Regions from separate parts of the Homo sapiens genome. Here regions 2 and 3 are each linked to region 1. Evidence: promoter capture Hi-C in 16 types of primary human blood cells and fetal thymus (Javierre and others, 2016). All regions are on one chromosome and are shown on one strand. Each heading gives the region's core, a stretch centred on a gene start or on the middle of the fragment in contact. The rest is flanking DNA. Distances are from core to core; before and after follow the strand shown. Region 1 holds the start of LMF2 (lipase maturation factor 2). Region 2 holds the start of ZBED4 (zinc finger BED-type containing 4). Region 3 overlaps ALG12 (ALG12 alpha-1,6-mannosyltransferase).

Region 1 (3,507 bases), core at 571-3,070:
GTGGTATAACTGATGGAATTCATGGATGAACTGAGTGTTAAGCATGGGGCTTCACTATAGCCACATTTAGCTTTTGCTTTTGGTTGAACAGCGGTGTCATTTTCCGAGATGGGAAAAGCTGGGGTTTAAGCAGAAAAATGAAGAGTTCCACTTTAAATATGTTAAATGAGATGTTTGCGTGACACCCACTAGATGTCAAGAGAGCAGCTGGATATGTAAAGTAGATTTGGAGGAAAGATCTAGGATGGAGCTGCAGATCTGGTAGTTGTCCTAATACAGGCAATATTTAAAATCATAGAAATAAATGACACTTCAGGGTAAATGCATCAGAAGATGACCTAGGCCCCATCCTGAGGAACTCAACACTTAGAGACTGGATAGAAAAGAAAAATCAGGCAATGAAATAGGGAAAAAAAATCCTACCACCATGTTTCAAAAAGAAAGGAGTGGCCAGTCCAACAAATGCTGACTTATGTCCCTTGGATTTGGTAGAATGGAGATCACTGCTGATCAAGACAAGAAACATTTAAGTGTCGTGGACGCCAGACTGAGCTGGGCTGAGGAGTAAAAATGAAGCGCAAATATGGAGCAGACAGCTTAACACAGGTCTAGACAGGGCTGTCAAACATGGAAGAAACACTAATCGCTAACAGGATAGAGCATGGCAATAGCTTGAAATTGGTTTGAAAATCCAAGATAAAAAATTCCTCTGACATCGTGATCCAGACCTCTCAAACACACAAGCATGCTCGCAATAACTGCAATAAAAGCAATAATGCTTTCTAGTCTATTCCACTACGTTAGAGAAACGGCTGGTCACCACCCACTCAATCATTCACGGCTCGCTGACGGGTAGAAACCTGCAATGACAGGTCCACGCTAATCCAACAAGGGATGATTTGGGGAGGCAGAGATGGAGTTTGAAAAGAAGCAGGGAGCCCGAGGACCTGCGCGGCCAGAGCGCCAGATAGCCATAGGCGTGGAGACGGTGGGGCGCCCACAGCCCCGGGCCCGGAGCCCCCGCCCCGCAGCCCCACCCGCCGGCCCACCCCGCGTCACTCCCCCGCCGCCCTTACCTCCTCCAGATACTCGCCCAGCTGGGCCGCCACGTCCACCTCCCAGTTCTTGGTGAGGTCGCGGATGGGCTGCAAGAGGTGGGCGAAGCGCGCCTCCACGTCCTCCATGTCCGGGAGGGAACGGGCGGCAAAGGGACCGCAGGGCTGCCTTCCGAGGGGTACGGCGTCCTCAGCCCGCCACTAGTTCTGGCGCCATTTTGCTGTTCCCGCCCAGGAAAATGCGTAGGCGCGGCGTCGCGCGCATGTCTATGACGTAACGTGGGCAAAAGCCAGAGAGGCGAACCCCGGCGCCGCGCAGCGGGAGCTCACCGGAAGAGTCGCGGGGCGGGGTCGAAGCCTCCGGGAGGGGGGGGTGGGCGGAGCTTTGGGCTGCCACCAGTTTGGACGGGAGGGCTTTTGGGGCCGCCGTGGGTCGGGCGGGGCGGGGTGGGGCGGGGCCTGGAGCTGCCGCGGGCGAGCGGGCCGAGGAGGCGGGGCTTGGGGGCTGCCACGGGTTGGGGGGGCGGGGCGGTGAGGAGGCGGGGCCTGGGGCAGCCGCGGGCGGGCGGACGGGCCGAGGAGGCGGGGCTTGGGGCTGCCACGGGTTGGGCGGGCGGGGCGGTGAGGAGGCGGGGCCTGGGACTGCCGCGGGCGGGCGGGCGGGCCGAGGAGGCGGGGCTTGGGGCTGCCACGGATTGGGCGGGCGGGGCGGTGAGGAGGCGGGGCCTGGGGCTGCCGCGGGCGGGCGGACGCGGAGGGCGGGCCCTGCTCTAGCGGGCCGCGTAGCGGACATGGCGGGCTCCCGGCTCCCGCGGCAGCTCTTCCTCCAGGGCGTGGCGGCCGTCTTCATGTTTGCTTTCGCTTCCCTCTACACGCAAATCCCAGGTGAAGGCACCCAGGGTGGGACACCCCCAGCCTCGGCGCGGGACCCTATGTCCTCTTTTCTCTGTGCCCGGCACTCACGCAGTCCGGGGTTGGGAGTGAGGGCCAGGCCTTGGCGTGGGGTAGGGGGCGGCGGTTCGTGTCCTGCAGGCCGCTGTGGGGGTAGGAAGGTGTGCGGTGATCCATTTCCCGTAAGGCTCTGGACTCTGACCTGGGGTGGGGGACAGAACTCTGAGAGAGGTGGGAGAGAGGCTTCCTCCCAGACCTGGTGGGACAGGTAGGAGATCGGGCTGAGACCTGGAAGAGGGCAGTGGGCTCTGCTGGGTGGGAGGCCCTGACTCAGGTAGTTGAGCAGGCCTCTAGCCCTGGGACGGGGTTTTGACAGGTCCCGACCTGGGGGACGGGCTCTGGAGGGACTGCAGACTCTGACCTAGGGATGGAGGTATCCGCATGCTCTGACCTAGGCTGGGGGATCTGCAGGCCCTGACTCAGAGGTAGTCTAGTCTGCAAGGGCTGTCCAGGGCCTGGCCATGACATGCCCTCCCACAGGCCTGTATGGCCCCGAGGGCATCCTACCTGCAAGGAGGACGCTGCGGCCTCAGGGCAAGGGGCGCTGGCAGCAGCTGTGGGAGACCCCGACGCTGCTGTGGGAAGCGCCGAGACTGGGGCTGGACACGGCCCAGGGCCTGGAGCTGCTGAGCCTGCTGGGTGCACTAGTGGCCCTGGGAGCCCTGCTGCTGAGCCCACTGCGCCACCCTGTCATCTACTTGCTGCTTTGGGCCGCCTACCTGTCAGCCTGCCAGGCAAGTGGGACCTGTGACCAGCTCACTCTATCTCCAACCCCCACCACCCACCCCTGCCTCTACCTTACCTGAGTCCACAGACACACCCGCTCCCTGACAGCCCCTCTCTCCGCAGGTGGGCCAGGTGTTCCTTTATTTCCAGTGGTGAGTGACGGCTGGGCCTGGGGCTGTGGGAGGCTGGGTAGGGGGTGGGGGAGGGCTCTGCCCTTCCTGGGAGGACTTTCCGAGGGAAGCAGCTGTGTGGGGAGGGGCTCTTGGTGCTATTTGCTCTCCCCATAGGGACTCCCTGCTGCTAGAGACTGGCTTCCTGGCCGTGCTGGTGGCCCCGCTGAGGCCAGCCTCCCACCGCAAGGAGGCCCCCCAGGGCAGGCAGGCAGGGGCCCTGCCCCACGAAGACCTCCCCTTCTGGCTGGTGCGATGGCTGCTGTTCCGCCTCATGTTCGCCTCAGGCGTGGTCAAGCTGACCAGCCGCTGCCCTGCGTGGTGGGGGCTCACTGGTGAGGGGCCCGGTCTGGACCTGGGGTAGTCTGGGGGCTCGGCCAGCCCTGACTCCTGCCCTCGCCTGCAGCCCTCACCTACCACTACGAGACCCAGTGCCTGCCCACGCCCGCCGCCTGGTTCGCACACCACCTGCCGGTCTGGCTGCACAAGCTCAGCGTGGTGGCCACCTTCCTAATTGAGATCGCTGTGCCGCCCCTGTTCTTCGCCCCCATTCGACGCCTGCGCTTGGCTGCTTTCTACTCGCAGGTGGGTGAGGGCCGCAGCTG
Region 2 (3,507 bases), core at 735-3,234, 650 kb after region 1:
ACCCCATCCCCAGGGCCAGGCCAGCATCAGCTGTTTCTATTGCACACAGAGTTTGCTGGGAAAGACATGGGCCATGGCTGCTGAAAAGCCTTCACCTAGAATGAGGTGGGAAGCTGGCTGGCATTGCAGCGCGGCCTTCACCTAGAACGAGGGGTGGGAAGCCGGCCGGGATTCCAGCGCGGCCTTCACCTAGAACGAGGGGTGGGAAGCCGGCCGGGATTCCAGCGCGGCCTTCACCTAGAACGAGAGGTGGGAAGCCGGCCGGGATTCCAGCGCGGCCTTCACCTAGAACGAGGGATGGGAAGCCGGCCGGGATTCCAGCGCGGCCTTCACCTAGAACGAGGGATGGGAAGCCGGCCGGGATTCCAGTGTGGGTCATTTAGGCTGCATGTCCCCTGAATTCCGAAACAACCCGGGGGAGCTGGGAGGCGGCTTCAGCAGCAGGCGCTTGGGCCGGGCAGGAGGTACGCACTGGGATGCCGTGAGGCTGCCTCTGCACCTCATGGACAATGCTCTCCTGGGGCTTCCGCCATCGCCCCCAGACCCTTCAGGGCAACCTCCTCTCCCTATGAGGTCTCCGGAGCATGCTTTCCTGAGAAACTGGGATTACCCCTGCTCTCACCTGCCGGTGTTTCTCCTTGAAGCACTTACTGAGCCTTTTTCTCTGGTTTACGCTGCTCCTCACCACCACCATGTTCCCTACGGCCAGGGCCTTCTTTGAAAACCACCATGGCCCCAGCAGGCAGAGAGGCAAGCACCTCTGTCTCTCCTGCTCCCCTCCGCCTCAGAAATGGCAAAGAGCTTATTTTATTCCTAACAATGCCTCCCAGAATTTGAACTACAAAAGCACATATCCAGTGATGACCAAGGAAGGGATCTGAGGTACTGCAGAATGTAGAAAAACCTAGGTGCTAAAAAGTGGGGAGCAGAAGGGCCTGGAAGGCTGGGATGCAGAGAGGCCCGAATCCTTGAAAGGGCTGAAGCCAGAGAGCTGCTGGAATCCACAGACACTAAAAGAGAAAGCCAAAACCAAACCGCTAAGGGGTGTCACGGGCTAAAGGCACAGTGACTTTCTTACACAGCCAAATGTAAATAAGAGCAATTCCTATAGGTACATTCTCAGGTCCTGAGATTTAAACAGTGAAGGAAACAACGTTGGTAAGGAAGGGCCAGCTTGGCCTCTACCCCAGGGCTGGGCAAAGCCACGCCCAGCTGTTTCACCTGCTCCCTCCTCTCAAAAGACAACCACCACACCAAAGAGAATGAGACCAGAAGCTAAAGCCAGGCAAAGAAAAAAACGCAAAACAAAGTGAAGGACGGCACTGACCACGGTCACTTCCTGCTCCTCATGCCGCCAGGAGTCCACTCCCCAGGGCTCCTCACCAAGGATCTGAGACACACACACACACACACCTTTCGCTAAAGAAGCTGCTTCTCAGCTCCTCTGCACACACACAGAAGTCAGTCCGCTCCCCTAGTAATTTTTTTAGTCTTTCTGCAAGGTGTTATGGACATACTTTGCACAGCTGAGTTACTCACTGTGTGTGTGGAGGGGGTTGGGGAGGAGGTAACCTTAAAGAGCAGAGGTTTTACATCCAACAACATCAACCACCTTATTCAGGAATTACCTGGACAAGAGTGTGTGTTGGGGGAGACCCTGTAACCACCTGTCAAGTGGACTAAAAGTCTTAGGTTTCTTTCCATATAGATTAACTGTGTCCTCACCTCAAAGACCGGGCCTCTGAAGCTTTTTCAAGATTCACAGAATCTCTCTTAACTTGTGCTAGATCTTTTCTTGAAAAAAAGCCAATCATGACAAGCAGATATAATCCGTTTAAGGACTACGGGAAGTGTGCAGCCTTGTACGGACGTCCCATTGGAAACCCTCGGAGTATGGAATCAAACTCCTGTAAACTTTCCTCTTGCAAAGTAACTTTGTTTAGTAATTGCAATTAATTCATAATCAAAATGTGGCTTATTCATAGCACTTAAAAAAAAATCCCAACCAAATCCTTCCTAGCCTCAATTTTGTCACTATGAATGACATACACAGAAAAAATAAAAAACATTTCTGTGTAAAAAGTCGCAGGATGCCCTTGCTTTACCAAACTGGCCTCACTATGAGGTCTGAATGGATTTCTAAAAACGTAATCTGATCAGAGTTAACTTCAAAATAAATAACTTCCCTTTCGACCAACACGAGAACACCAACAGAAGCTTCTGACGGCTCAGCTTGGCCGGGACGTGTTTCCACAGAGGTGCCCGGGTCTACCAGGGCCACCCGGAATAGAAAGGCGCAGAAGGGAGCCCGAGGGGCTGCGATTCTCTTAGCAACGAAGGCGGTGTGGGCCACACAACGGGACAAAAGAAGAAACAAAACTGACTGCGAGCTCATTTGGGTGTAGGAAAACCACTGCAGTCGAAAAACATTTGAAATTATGGTTCGCAAGGCAAGTTACATTTTTATTCATTAAATGTGAACGGTCATCCCCAGAACCACGTACAATAACCTGCCTCGGGGCGCGTCGCAAGGACCCGTCTGGGCTGAGACATGAAGCAGGGCCCAGGTGGCCCTTCCTGGAGGTGGGACGGGAATGACACGTCCAGAGAAGTCCCAGGGACGGGGCTCGCGGGGTTAACTCGACGTGGCCGGGACAGCGCGCTCCCGGCGGACCCGGGCGGCGCCCCGAGCCCGAGCCCCGTCCCGTCCGCCCGGAAGCAACGGCGCGGGCACGTGGGCCAGGCCGGGCGCCGACCCCCGGCACTCGGCCGCTCAGTCGGCGCCGCCCCCGCGCCAGCTGTCAGGGCCGGGGTCCGCGCGGGGGCGGGTCCGGGGCGGCGCCGGGCGGGGACCCCGAGGCCACGGAACCGCGCCCCCGCCCGCCTGGCCCCGGCCCTGGCCCCGGCGCGGCGCAGACAATGGCGCGGCCCGGCCCGGCCCCGGCGCGGTCCGCGGGGGACGGGGCTCGCGGCAGGCGGCGGGGCGGCGGCGCCCGCGCACTCACCTCGGCCCGGCCTCTGGGGCGGCTCCCGGCCGGCTGCGGACGACGGCGGCGCGGGCGGACGCTCCATTCATTACCGCGGCTTTGTCTGCCCCCGCGCCCCTCCCGCGGCCCCGCCGCCCGCCGCCCGCGACGCCGCCGGACGCTGCGCCCCTCCCAGGGCCCCGCGCGGCGCGGGGCGGGGCTGGCCGGGGGCGGGGCCGATCGGGGGCGGGGCCTACTCTCGCAGGCGCAGTGTCCGCGTACCCGCCCCGCCTCGTCCCTGGCCGGGCGGGAGGACGGAGCGCCGGAGGCCCGGCCGCTGGGGCGGGGTCGGGCGGAAGACGCAGGCGCAATGCGCGCTTCGGCTCCGCCCCCGGGTCCAGGAGGGCAAACTACGCAGGCGCAGTGGGCGCTCCGGCGCTGGCGGGCGACGGGAAGGGCTTAGGCGCTCTGGCTGGGCGGGGCGCGGGCGCCTTGGTTTCGTCCCGTGGCTTGGCAGTTGGCAGCGGCTCGGCGCGCACCC
Region 3 (3,507 bases), core at 373-2,872, 590 kb after region 1:
TAGTAGAGACAGGGTTTCACCATGTTGGCCAGGATGGTCTTGATCTGCTGACCTCGTGATCCACCCACCTCAGCCTCCCGAAGAGCTGGGATTATGGGAATGAGCCACCGCACCTGGCCCTCAGCCTCCCAAAGAGCTGGGATTACGGGAATGAGCGACCGCGCCCGGCCCCAGGTTTTTATATTTGGCAAAGGAGAGAACTGCATACCATTTCAGTCGTAAAATTATTAAAGCTTTCTTTTTTCTTTCTCTCCACCCCCTGCCCACCATATCAAATAGGGTTCTCCTTCCTTCTAATCTACAGATTTTCCTTTGGTTGCCATCTTTGTATACTTCTTAACTCTCCGTTTGATCAAAAGATAGTTTTGGCTGGGCATGGTGGCCCACGCCTGTAATCCCAATACTTCAGGAGGCCAAGGTAGGAAGATGGCTTGAAGCCAGGAATTCCATACCAGCCTGGGCTACAAAGCAAGACCCTGTCTTTACAAAAAATAAGAAAACTTAGCTGAGTGTGGTGACCCACACCTGTAGCTGCGGCTACTCAGGAGGCTCAGGCAAAAGGATCCCAGGAGTTTGAGGCTGCAGTGAGCCATGATCACTCCACTGCACTCCAGCTTGGGTGACAGAGTAAGACGCTGTCTCTTAAAAAAAATTTTTAAAGTAGTTTTAATAAATGGTAAGCCCTGGGGTTCTCTCTCCCTTTGCTTCTGGCCCTTCTGGTTTGGATTGAATAAAATCAAATCTGTTTTAAAAGAAGCCAGAAACGTGAAGAGTTTGCCCCCTCCCCTCCCTTGGTCTCTCACGTGTAGCAGCTGGACATGTTGCTGGCCTCTCAGGAAGCTCCGTGCCACGGGCCCCTGAGGTTGTCCTGTTAGTGTTTGGGGGACCCATTGCCAGTCTTCCCAGGCTCACATGCAGGCTCATGGCCAGTGTGGTGCCACCTTTGGGAAAGCCGGCCATGGCTTCTCCCAGCCCCCAGGGTGGGGTTCGGCGCAGGCGTCCACAGCCCCATCCCACCATTCCTGGGAGCGGGGGCTTTGCTGGCCACTCGAGCCCTGTGTCCCAGCAGCTGTACTACGTTCAGTTTCTTGCCCTCCCGGGGCCCCTGTCCACCACTCTCCAGCTTGGTGCCTCCCACCCAGCTAACTGGCACCCCTCAGCCTCCCATTCCGTCTTCTTCAGCCGGTTCCCTCGGGGCCAAGCCTGGGTTTTGCTGACTCTCCTGCCAGATTTAGACTGGGGGGCAGGGGCCATTTACCACCCTCCATTGCCCTCGTGGCCCAGGCCTGGTCAGACTCAGGGTTCTGCGACTGAGATCCTTCTGCCTAGAAAAACATTCACAGAGCTGGAAGTGTCAGATCACTGGTTACAGTATGAAAGATTCTCAAGTGTGATTTTTTCTCCAAACTTTCCATCTTGATGCGTTTTCAGATTTGTAGTAGTGCGACTAAGACAGTAGTTCAGAGAATTCTGCTAACCCTTTACCCGGATCTCCCAAACGTGAGCGCAAGCGTGACTTTCGAACCTCAGGAATCTGTTTCCACTTTTCCAGCATGCGTGGAGTGGCAGTGCTAACGGCTGGTGTCTCGCACTGTTGGCCTGTGAAGGTACGTGAAGCTGAAAGCCTGGAATGGCTGGAAAGGGGTCATCAGGCAGGCGGCCCCTGCTGCTGGGGCTGCTGGTGGCCGTAGCCACTGTCCACCTGGTCATCTGTCCCTACACCAAAGTGGAGGAGAGCTTCAACCTGCAGGCCACACATGACCTGCTCTACCACTGGCAAGACCTGGAGCAGGTGAGGGGCCCCTGCTGTCTTTGGGGAAAACCTCATGTTACCAGCTGGCAGGGCCCCGGTGCACTGACCTGCCCTTCTCCTCGCAGTACGACCATCTTGAGTTCCCCGGAGTCGTCCCCAGGACGTTCCTCGGGCCAGTGGTGATCGCAGTGTTCTCCAGCCCCGCGGTTTACGTGCTTTCGCTGTTAGAAATGTCCAAGTTTTACTCTCAGCTAATAGGTAAGGGGGTCTTCAACAAAGGAGGAGGGAGTGAGGGACTGTGGTGTCATCGGGTGACCTCAGCGAGGCCGCGGTCCCTCCTGCCCAGGAACGCTGTCTGTTAGTCTTGCCTGCCCTCGATCACCGTGGCATGGCGGCTCAGAGCAGGTGCTCAGGTCAGGCCTAAGACGTCTGAGTCAGCCCCTCTGTGCCTCCACACTCTTGACTGTGAAATTAGGGGTGACGGCAGGTACAAGAGAAATGCCGACTGCCTGTGAGGCAGCTCTCGCCACCTGAGCCTGCTGCTCCCGCCTCACCTGGCAAGCCCCCATGGGGTCAACAGCCTTTATTCCTGCAGAAGCAGCACCATTTGCCTTGGGGAATGTTACAAACAGAAACCTCACATTCCCAGAGGCCACCACTGCAGGGCCTGTGTGCAAATCCTGGGTCTTTCTCTGTGCCCACATGAGGACTTTAAAAAAAAAAAATTAGAACGTTTTGTACATATTGTTCTAAAAACCGATTTTTTTTTCTTTTTTGAGACAGGGCCTTGCTGTGTCACCTAGGCTGAAGTGCAGTGGTGCAATCATAGCTCACTACAGCTTTGAACTCCTGGGCTCAAGTGATTGTCCCACCTCAGCCTCCCACAGTGCTGGGATTACAGGCATGAGCCACCACGCCCAGTCACACAACCTGAGTTTTTGAAGTCAGCAATCACCACTTTTTTATTTCAGTACGCTTTTATTGCTTTTAATACCCAGACATGCTTCCAGCGAGTCAGTCCAGCTTGTGTGGAGAGCTTTAAGAAGTAGCACGTTCCTGGGGAAGGAGCAGTTCTGCTTCTTGAAGGGGCAGATTGGGAACGGAAACCCACCATGGCACGGGGACAGCTGGACAAGCCGTGCATGTCCTGTAGAGGCATCAGGAAGCCCCAAATGGGGAGGAGTTGGGGGGCCACGAGCCAGGGAAAGGAAGTCCACAGGCAATTCCGGGGCTGAGTCCACATTCCCTTGGAAGCTTCTGCTTATTCCAGGGTTGGCAGCAAGAGGTTGGGAGGTTGGGCAGAGCTGGGTGGACTCCAGCTGGACAGAACCTTGGAGGGCTGCAGCTTCAGCTGGTGAACGGGAGCCCACCCTGTGTCCTTCCTGATCCCACTAAGGTGACCTGGAATTGCTAGTGCCCCCCCCAGCCCCTGCCACAGGCCAAAATCCTTCCTCTCTGGATGAAGAGCATGTCATCCTGGGGCCGAGGGTGATCCCGGGGCCGAGGGTGATCCTGGGGCCAGGCTGATCCCGGGGCCGAGGGTGATCCCGGGGCCGAGGGTGATCCCGGGGCCAGGCTGATCCCGCGGCCGAGGCTGATCCCGGGGCCGAGGGTGATCCCGTGGCCGAGGCTGATCCCGGGGCCGAGGGTGATCCCGCAGCCGAGGCTGATCGTGAGGCCGAGGCTACCCTTGTTGGGCACGGGGTTGAGATTGTTGGGCATTTGGGAAGATGGAAAACCAAGAGAAGAGACGC

What was found. The method cuts DNA at HindIII sites, captures the fragments that hold promoters and counts their contacts. A CHiCAGO score of 5 or more calls a contact.
Region 2: a contact is called between a fragment that was not itself captured here and the fragment with the promoter of LMF2 in region 1, in 5 of 17 cell types (total B cells, erythroblasts, monocytes and 2 more). The highest score is 8.6, in total B cells.
Region 3: a fragment that was not itself captured here is called in contact with the fragment with the promoter of LMF2 in region 1 in 2 of 17 cell types (neutrophils and fetal thymus); the score reaches 7.0 in neutrophils.

What each region holds. Positions count from the first base shown.
Region 1 is chr22:50,506,015-50,509,521 of GRCh38, reverse strand. LMF2 (lipase maturation factor 2) reads left to right here and starts at 1,820. Exons shown (of 14, transcript NM_033200.3): 1 at 1,820-1,940; 2 at 2,487-2,740; 3 at 2,856-2,884; 4 at 3,020-3,237; 5 at 3,309-3,487. The coding sequence starts at 1,847. It overlaps NCAPH2 (non-SMC condensin II complex subunit H2), which reads right to left and starts at 1,298. Exons shown (of 20, transcript NM_152299.4): 1 at 1,077-1,298. The coding sequence starts at 1,184. RefSeq lists silencers at 760-1,049, 1,720-1,819 and an enhancer at 2,040-2,089. The HindIII fragment of the contact is 8,515 bases long and covers 1-3,507 here.
Region 2 is chr22:49,853,488-49,856,994 of GRCh38, reverse strand. ZBED4 (zinc finger BED-type containing 4) reads right to left here and starts at 3,151. Exons shown (of 2, transcript NM_014838.3): 1 at 3,006-3,151. LOC124905147 (a long non-coding RNA gene) reads left to right here. Exons shown (of 2, transcript XR_007068156.1): 2 at 1,709-2,493. LOC105377205 (a long non-coding RNA gene) reads left to right here and starts at 3,483. Exons shown (of 5, transcript NR_188597.1): 1 at 3,483-3,507. RefSeq lists an enhancer at 1-318 and silencers at 2,504-2,793, 2,964-3,507. The HindIII fragment of the contact is 470 bases long and covers 1,750-2,219 here.
Region 3 is chr22:49,911,889-49,915,395 of GRCh38, reverse strand. It overlaps ALG12 (ALG12 alpha-1,6-mannosyltransferase), which reads left to right. Exons shown (of 10, transcript NM_024105.4): 2 at 1,553-1,792; 3 at 1,879-2,011. The coding sequence starts at 1,631. Among named protein-coding and RNA genes, the nearest start is that of ALG12, 4.8 kb to the left of the region's middle. The HindIII fragment of the contact is 2,774 bases long and covers 236-3,009 here.